Linked DNA regions of Homo sapiens: regions 1 and 2 are each linked to region 3. Evidence: promoter capture Hi-C in human tissues and cell types (Jung and others, 2019). All regions are on one chromosome and are shown on one strand. Each heading gives the region's core, a stretch centred on a gene start or on the middle of the fragment in contact. The rest is flanking DNA. Distances are from core to core; before and after follow the strand shown.

Region 1 (2,700 bases), core at 152-2,651, 680 kb after region 3:
TGGAAGGGGCCCTTAGGATTCACGTAGCTAAGCTGCCTCATTGGGGTGTGACAAGCCCAAGTTGGCAAAGCAGGCAGGACTAGGACCATGGGCCACTTGTGTGAGCCCCAGACAGGCCTGAGAGCCCTGCAGCATTGACTGGAAGGTGCGGGTGTGTGGATTTGGCGTGGTCATTTATTCATTCAACAAACTCAGGGTGAGCACCTTTTTTGTGTGGGGCTCAGTGCTTGAGGCTGGGGACCCAGGGGCATCAGACAGCACAGCCCTTGTGTGGGACAAGGGGTTCTGGGGAGTAGGCTGGGGTCAGGGAGGCCTGGAGAAGTGCAGCTCAGCCGAATCCTCCAGGAACAGGCACGGAGATTGAAGGGTGAGATTACACAGAAACTTCTGTGCCTCCTTGAGGGACTTGGACTTTCTCCTGAGGGCAGCGGTTCCAAGCTGGGAGGGGCAGCATCAGATGTGGCTTTCGCTTGGCTCATGGGGGCCGGGTTGGGGGCCCATTGAGGAAGCTGCTGCCATTCCGGTGAGCGGTAGGCTTGGGGTTGGGAGATTTGGGAAGTGCGGGCAGTGGGACTGACTGCCTTGGTGGTGTGGGGAGGGGCCCAGAAGGGGGCAGGTGGGTGGGGAGGGGCCCAGATTTGGGAAGTGCGGGCAGTGGGACGGACAAGCCTTGGTGATGGGTGGGGAGGGGCCCAGAAGGGGGAGTGTTGGGAACGTCATCGGAGCGTCAGTCCCTTGGTGCCAGGCTTGAGTCACAGGTTACTAGCTCAGGTTGTTGGGACAGCGATTTGAGTTTCACCTCGTTTGCCACAGAGGGTCTCAGGCCAGAAAGCCAGGCCTGGTGTGACCCAAAGCCCATGCCCACTGCCCTCCTTGCTGCCCAGCCCAGATCATTCCTGCCAGGTCTGCACCTCGCTGTCCCTCACTCCGTCTGGCACTGGGCCACCTGAGCATGCAAGTGTGCCCACCACCTGCTGCCCTGTACACATGGGTAGGTGCCGGGGGAACAGCATCCGCTCCCCACTGCCTAGGACTCTTGGACCAGACCTCCACCTGCCACCTGGTGCATGAGAGCCTCTGCCAGCCAACAACCCCTCCACTGCCACCCGGGGCACAATGCCTGGGACAAAGTCCCCAATGCTAGAGAAGACCCCAAAGGATGGGGAAGGGCGGGGAGCACCCTCCCTTCCATTTCCCCGTACCCCCGCTCCGCTCAGCCCGCCAGGCTGGAGATAGAGCTGAGGCTGTGTACTGAAGTGGCCCTTTGTACGTTGTCACCAGAGGATGGCGAGCCTGGGCGGGAGGGGCTGGCACTGCCGGGGCTGCAGGGCAGGGCGGCGCTGAACTCAGCAGAGCAGGGGCTTTCTCTGGGGCCACAGGGCAGGGGAGGAGCGCCTGTCAGGTGTGGGAACTTGCAGGCTGGGCCTGCACCCCCAAACCGGAGGATATTTGTCCCTCCAAGTCTGTTGCTGCTTCTCATCTGGGCTCCTGTGTCTTTGGACTGTTCCATGTCATCCAGCAGCTGTCCCTGCAGTGCATGCTCCAGGGCTGACTTTGTCCTGGGGGGTGGGGAACAGTGGCGACCGAGGCCTGTGGTGACCCTGCTCTCCTGTGGCCTCGCCAGCAGGGTGAGGGCGGGGCAGACGTAAACAACAAAGTGGGATCGCCTCTGCAGGGATGAGCGCTGGGGGGACAGCCTGGAGAGAGGGCTTGCGGGCGGGGGCAGCACTTCAGCCAGCTGCTCAGGGGCCCCTGTCTGACGAGTGGCATCAGAGCATGCAGGGACCTGAGGAAGGGCGTTCCAGGCGGAGGGATCAGCCAGTGCGAGGACCCTGGAATGGGGCCATGCCTGAAGAGTGTAGGAGACAGGAAGGTGGGGAGTGTGGCTGGAGCCTGGGGGACAAGGGAGGCAAGGTCAGCAGAAACGCAGGCATCAGATGGCCAGGGTCCATGGCACGCAGAGGAGTTGGGGTTTTAATTCTTAGTGTGACAGGGCCATGGGAGGGCTTGAGCAGGGAGATGTGGCCTGATGGGGAATTTGCGGTGACTCTGGCTGCTGCAGAGGCAGGAGGGAAGCTAGTGAGGACCTCGGGGTGGCAGAGGAGGCAGAGAGAGGTCCATCCTGGGAGCATTTGGGGGAACGGGGCCTGCAGGCTTTCCTGCCCCTCTGCCGGGCATGTGGTGAGGCCGCACCCAGCTCAGAGGACTGGCCTGTGTCAAGACTCTGGATGTTATCCGTTTTAATCCCCTCGGGGTTGGGATGGCCTCACATTGCTGATAGAGGCACCGAGGCCCAGGGTATTCAGTGACCTGCCCAAGATCACGGAGGAGGGTTTGGAAAGGGCAGGATTTGAATCCAGCCCCTTTTGAGTCTAGACTCCAGAGAGCTATGGCCCCAAAGCAGCCCTCGCCCCACGCTGACTCCTGAGAGATTGGGGGTGGGCACCCAGGACAGCCCAGGGTCCAGGAGAGCCCTCTCACAGAGGCAGAAGCACTCAGCCCAGCCCCCTCCTGCCCGGCTTTTCCTGGGCCTCCTTTGTTATCTGACGATGGCCACCCCCACTCAGACCAAAGGCTCTGGCTGCCCCTCTGCCTGGGAGGCACCACATCTCTGGGAGCCCTGGGGGTGGGGGCAGGGGCATTCTGACCTTGGAAGCCAGGGCAGGGCAGAGCTGGCTCCTTCCCTTCTCTTGTCCAGAT
Region 2 (2,700 bases), core at 17-2,516, 560 kb after region 3:
CCAGGCTGGAGTACAATGGTGCCATCTCGGCTCATTGCAACCTCCGCCTCCCAGGTTCAAGCAACTCTACTGCCTCGGCCTCCCAAGTAGCTGGGACTACAGGCACACACCACCACGCCCAGCTAATTTTTGTATTTTTAGTAGAGATGGGGTTTCACCATGTTAGCCAGGCTGGTCTCGAACTCCTGACCTCAGGTGATCCACCTGCCTTGGCCTCCCAACGTGCTGGGATTACAGGCGTGAGCCACCGCACCCGGCCTGGACCTGGGATTTTTGTAAAATTTGTAAAAGAAAGATTTTTTTTTCTGTTGCTTTTCCAAAAGAGGGCCCCCAAATCATGTAAGCTTCAGGGCCTCACCAACCTGGACCCACCCTGGAACCCAAGCCCTCTGAGCCCCTGGGTCAGCCTGCACAGAAGCAGGGCCTCCAAGACCTGGCTTGTCTCTTTTTTATTTTTTTAGAGACAGGATCTTGCTGTGTTGCCCAGGCTGGTCTCAGACTCCTGGACTCAAGTGATCCTCCCACCTCAGCCTTGTGAGCAGCTGGGACGATGAGGCGAGGCGTGGGCCACTGCATCCGGCATGGCTTGTCTCTTGACTAAGGCTTTCTCACCTCTTGGTGTCATCGCCCCAGTGGCAGATCAGCTGCCACTCCTGGCACCCCCAGGCCACAGCTGTGACCTTCAGTAAGTGTCCCCTCCCCACCCTCTGTGCCTCAGTCTTCCCACCCGAACTGGGCTGGGCTGGGTCAGAAGTGCCTGATCTGTTGCGCGGTGACTGCCGCCTGTCAGTGACTCATTTCTTTGTTCTAAAGCCAGATGGGAAAAAAAGGAGTTACAGCAAGAAGCTAAACTGATTTAATAGAAAGGACCACCTTTTATTTGGAGTTTATATTCTTTTTTGCAGGGGGCTAAGATGGACTATAGGGAATGAATATCAGTGCTGGCAGATGAGTTTTTTGTTTGTTTGTTTTTTGTTTTTGAGATGGAGTCTCGCTCTGTCTCCAGGCTAGAGTGCAGTGGCGCGATCTTGGCTCACTGCAACCTCTGCCTCCTGGTTTCAAGTGATTCTCCTGCCTCAGCCTCCCAAATAGCTGGGATTACAGGCACCCACCACCATGCCCAGCTACTTTTTAAATTTTTAGTAGAGACGGGGTTTCACCATCTTGGCCAGGCTGGTCTCAAACTCCTGACCTAGTGATCCACCCGCCTCAGCCTCCCAAAGTGCTGGGATTACAGGTGTGAGCCACCGTGCCCAGTCAATGTTTCTTTAATTCTCTACTTTGACAAAATGAAAATGATAAAATGTTTGAAATGTTGCCATTTTCAGGGTTCATTTTTTAAGGGCTTTGGCCATAATACCACATGGTTCTGTAAGTGGGGTGGGTATCTTCCCCCCGTTTTACAAATGACAGAATTAAGGCTCAGCCTGGAGAAGTGACTTGTGCTAGCTCAAGGCCTGGGCTTGTCAGAGACTTGGTTTGAACCCGGACTGCTGGGCTCCACATTCTGTGTACTCCCTGTGGGTTCTCTGCCTGGATATCCATGGCACCAAGGGGTGGCCTGAGGGGGGCAGCTTCATACCCCTGGTTTTATTCACCCCCTCCACTCCACCCCCCATCATCCCAAGTGAACACTGAATAAAAAAGCTGAACTTGGCCAGGTGAGGTGGCTCACGCCTATAATCCCAGCACTTTGGGAGGCCAAGGCGGGTGGATCACTTGAGGTCAGGAGTTCGAGACCATCCTGGCCAACATGGTGAAACCCCATCTCTACTAAAATACAAAAATTAGCTGAGCGTGGTGGCGGTCGCCTGTTATCCCAGCTACTCAGGAGGCTGAGGCAGGAGAATCGCTTGAACCCGGGAGGCGGAGGTTGCAGTTAGCTGAGATCACACCACTGCACTCCAGCCTGGGCAACAAAAGCAAAACTCTGTCTCAAATAAAAAAAAAAAAAAGCTGAACGTTTTTTGTAAACACAGCAGTTTCAAGATAAGACCCCTTGCCTCCCCCAACCAACTTGCCATGTGCCAGCCATGGGGCCACAGGAAAATTCTGGGACCAGCGGTTGTTGGGGAAGAGGGTCCAGGGTAGAGACAGAACCTCTGGCCAGTTCTGATGTTCATTTGTTCATTCCACAAGTCCCCTGCTCAGTGCCAGCTGAGTGCTCAGTGCCACCCCAAGGCACTCTCGCTCCAATAACGAGAACAGGATTGAGTGGGAAGCACTGTCCCAGAGGCTCGGGTCACTACAAGAAGGAATTCCCAAGGGGTGGCCCAGGAGAGGCTTGGATGACAGACTCACAAGCTGGACTTCCTCTGAGGGCAGTGGGAAGCTGGAGAGAGGGTCAAGGGTATTTCGGAAGCTCCTGTGGAAGCTTGGTTTGGAGAGGGCTCTGTGGCTGGAAATGCGTGGTCACGTCCAGCCTGTCCTCTCCCAGTACCGGGCACAGCCCTGTCACCTAGACAGGAAGGTGGGCCCACGGCCCTTGTTTGTTATTTATTGCTGACCACCCTGGAGTCTTTCTCACCTCTTCACCTCCTGTGGCCGGCCGCTCCGCCGCTTCTTCTCTCTCAGGTCTAGGACAGGGTCAGCTGCAAGGAGACCGCTGGGAGGTGATAGATTTCTGCTGTGTTTTGGGCACTTCCTCATGTCCAGGGACAGCCCAGGGGCGGCCTCAAGAGCCTGAGAAAGCCTAGGGCA
Region 3 (2,700 bases), core at 27-2,526:
AAAGTGTAGGATAGTAAACACATAAACAAGTAACAGTCATTTATTACCATTATCAAGTATGATGTCCTGTACACAATTGTATGTGCTATATTTTATATGACTGGCAGCACTGTAGGTTTGCTTACACCAGCATCACCACACACGTGAGTCATGCATTTTGCTTTGACATTACGATAGCTATGTAACTAGGTGATAGAAATTTGTCAGCTCCATTATAACCTTAGGGCACCACCGTGGTATCTGTGGTCTTTCTTGACCAAAACGTTGTTATATGGTACATGACTGTATTTCAATCTCCATCTGTCCCCTCCCCACCCCTAAGTAACCCTAACCATGGAAGCCCAGGAGGAAGATCAGAGAGGGTCAACTGGAGAAATGACAGTTCATGCTGACCGGGTTGATAACATTTCCCAGAGAGGGAAAATGTGGTGAAGAGACAAAGGAAAGAAACTAACAAATACTGAATCTATACTGGACTGGACTCTGTACTTCATATTAGCCTCAGAATTACCAAAGGAGATGCACCGACGTATACTGATTTTACATATGCACTGATTAAAAGCGCAGGGAGGGTAGGTCTTGAGACTGGGAATCCAAATTAGGTTTGCCAAGTTATTTTCACAATACACGATACCTCCCATTGGGGAGCACATCCTCTCGGAAGCCTAAAGTTGGGTCAAAGAACAACGACATCCTAGAACGTCAGAGTGGAAGAGGCCTTAGAGATCACTCAACTCAACTTCTCATTTACAGATGGGGAAACTGAGGCCCAAACAGGGGAAATGACCAGCCCAGAATCCCAGTAAGTCGCCAACTCTCCAAGCCAAGAGCGGTCTGACCTAGTTGATGGCGACCCCGCGGGAGAGGGAATTACTCCGCGAAAGGTCGAGGGATCAAGGTGCTGGGGGAAGTCGGCTAAAGGGGGACGCGGGACCACGAAGCTGGGCAGGCCTTGGGTGGGTGGGGAAGAGCAGCCGGCAGAGTCGCGATGGCAAACCTGTCACGACAGAGCTCGCAGGTCCCGAAGTGGGGGTGAGGGTGGGGGTTGAGGATGGGAAGACCTGGGGCAGGGGAACAGCAGGCAGGAGACCGAGGTGGGGCCTCGGCGGCGGGCGAGGCCTCTTCCGCCCTGCGTTGCCTCCCGCCCTCCCTCCGGGCCGGCCCTCCCCGCCTGGCTGCCCGCCGCGCCCCGGGGCCTCACCTGCTCCTGCGGGGGCCGGAGCCGGGGCCGCAGCCAGCGAACCCCCGCCAGGGTTGTCAAGGAGCGAAACAAGAGTGTCTTAGCAACCAGCAAGGAAGTCCTGCCCCCTCACCGGACGTTGACGAGAATTTCACTTATTATTGGTGGATAAAAGTATCAATCAGAGTGAAAGGCCCTTATAAGTCAGGCGTTTGCAAGGACAGGGGCGTGGTTTAGAGGCCAGGGAGGCGGGACTTCACTTATAGTTGTCTTAAGCGTGCCCGAGGAGCAGGGGACACATTGAAGTTCTTTTTCTAGGGAAACAAACTTCGAAAAGCAGTACTGCCTTGGGAGGTTCTTTTAGTCACTTGAAATAACAAATGCAACTTGTTGGTGTCGTGACACTTAGCCACTACTTTATTGGGATCTGAAAAGCCTGATAATAACTAGCATTTTTGTAGGGCTGTACAATTAATATCTCACTTGATTCTCATTACAGTACTTTTAGGTGATAATATTCGTCATCCCATCTGAACTAAAGTTCAGAGAGGTTAAGTAACTTGGTAAAGGATGGAGGTAATCTCCCTGGAGAAGGAACCCAGGGGCTCCTTCCTCTGTGCCACACCCTTGTATGGTCACCTAGCTCTAGTCACTAGGAGACATTTGTACCACCTAATTTCAGACACAGTTGCCCAGAGCCTGCCTTTTCTTCCCCTTGGGAGGGAAAATTAATCCGAAAGTACGGAGAAGGAAAAGGGGAAAGGGGAAGAACTGGCGGATTCTATTATTTGATTGGTAGATCAAAGGGTCAGTTGGGTACTTCGTAGTTTAAACCTTTATTATTGTGATGAGTACTTGGGGTGAAACCCCACTGCCACATTTACTAGCATTGAAGCTGTCTTTGCCAAAATTATAACTGAGGAAATTATGACAGTGAAAGAGATCAGACCTAACCCACTCCATCTTGCCTTTCTAGCCTTTAAGCTGTCTTTGTTCATTCCTAGGCATAGGCTGAACGAACCTTGGGAAGGAATTTAGTTTATAGTTTTACTCTGAAACAAAATTGACAATAGCCCTTTCCCAAAAAGGCTCCCTTCCTGCCTTGGGACCAGTCTGCCTTTGTAGGACTAACAAATTAGCTACAACATTAGAAATTATGGTTTAGGGGTCACACAGCAGCCTCTGGCTGCAAGAGTCTGAACCTTCCCAAATTGCTCCTGGGGATAACATCACTATTGTAAAACCTAAGATCAGCGCTTGAGATATTTTGCAGACCCTGCGCTCGATGGATCAGCTGACACCACCCAGACCAGTAATGTGGCTCAAACAGTTCTGTGATCCCACCCAGGAACAGAAGACAGCAAGAAAACCTCACTTCGACCCCCTCAGTATTCCATCTTCGACTTAATCAATCAACACTCCTCGCTTGCCAAGCCCCTACCCACAAAATTATCTTTAAAACCTCTGATCCCTGAATGCTTGGGTAGCATATTCAACTGCCTCCTAGCCATGTGCACCAG

Evidence for each region. The method cuts DNA at HindIII sites, captures the fragments that hold promoters and counts their contacts. A contact is called where the count stands out against the background at its distance.
Region 1: a fragment that was not itself captured here is called in contact with the fragment with the promoter of DNAL4 in region 3 in 1 of the 25 tissues and cell types used here (mesenchymal stem cells).
Region 2: a contact is called between a fragment that was not itself captured here and the fragment with the promoter of DNAL4 in region 3, in 4 of the 25 tissues and cell types used here (dorsolateral prefrontal cortex, lymphoblastoid cells, mesenchymal stem cells and 1 more).

The regions. Positions count from the first base shown.
Region 1 is chr22:39,468,526-39,471,225 of GRCh38, forward strand. The region is part of intron 1 of MGAT3 (beta-1,4-mannosyl-glycoprotein 4-beta-N-acetylglucosaminyltransferase); the gene reads left to right. Among named protein-coding and RNA genes, the nearest start is that of MGAT3-AS1, 6.9 kb to the right of the region's middle. RefSeq lists an enhancer at 1,633-2,562. The HindIII fragment of the contact is 6,749 bases long and covers 1-2,700 here.
Region 2 is chr22:39,352,903-39,355,602 of GRCh38, forward strand. The region is part of intron 1 of SYNGR1 (synaptogyrin 1); the gene reads left to right. Among named protein-coding and RNA genes, the nearest start is that of SYNGR1, 4.3 kb to the left of the region's middle. The HindIII fragment of the contact is 5,350 bases long and covers 1-2,700 here.
Region 3 is chr22:38,792,867-38,795,566 of GRCh38, forward strand. It overlaps DNAL4 (dynein axonemal light chain 4), which reads right to left and starts at 1,277. Exons shown (of 4, transcript NM_005740.3): 1 at 1,202-1,277. RefSeq lists a silencer at 1,019-1,468. The HindIII fragment of the contact is 13,707 bases long and covers 1-2,700 here.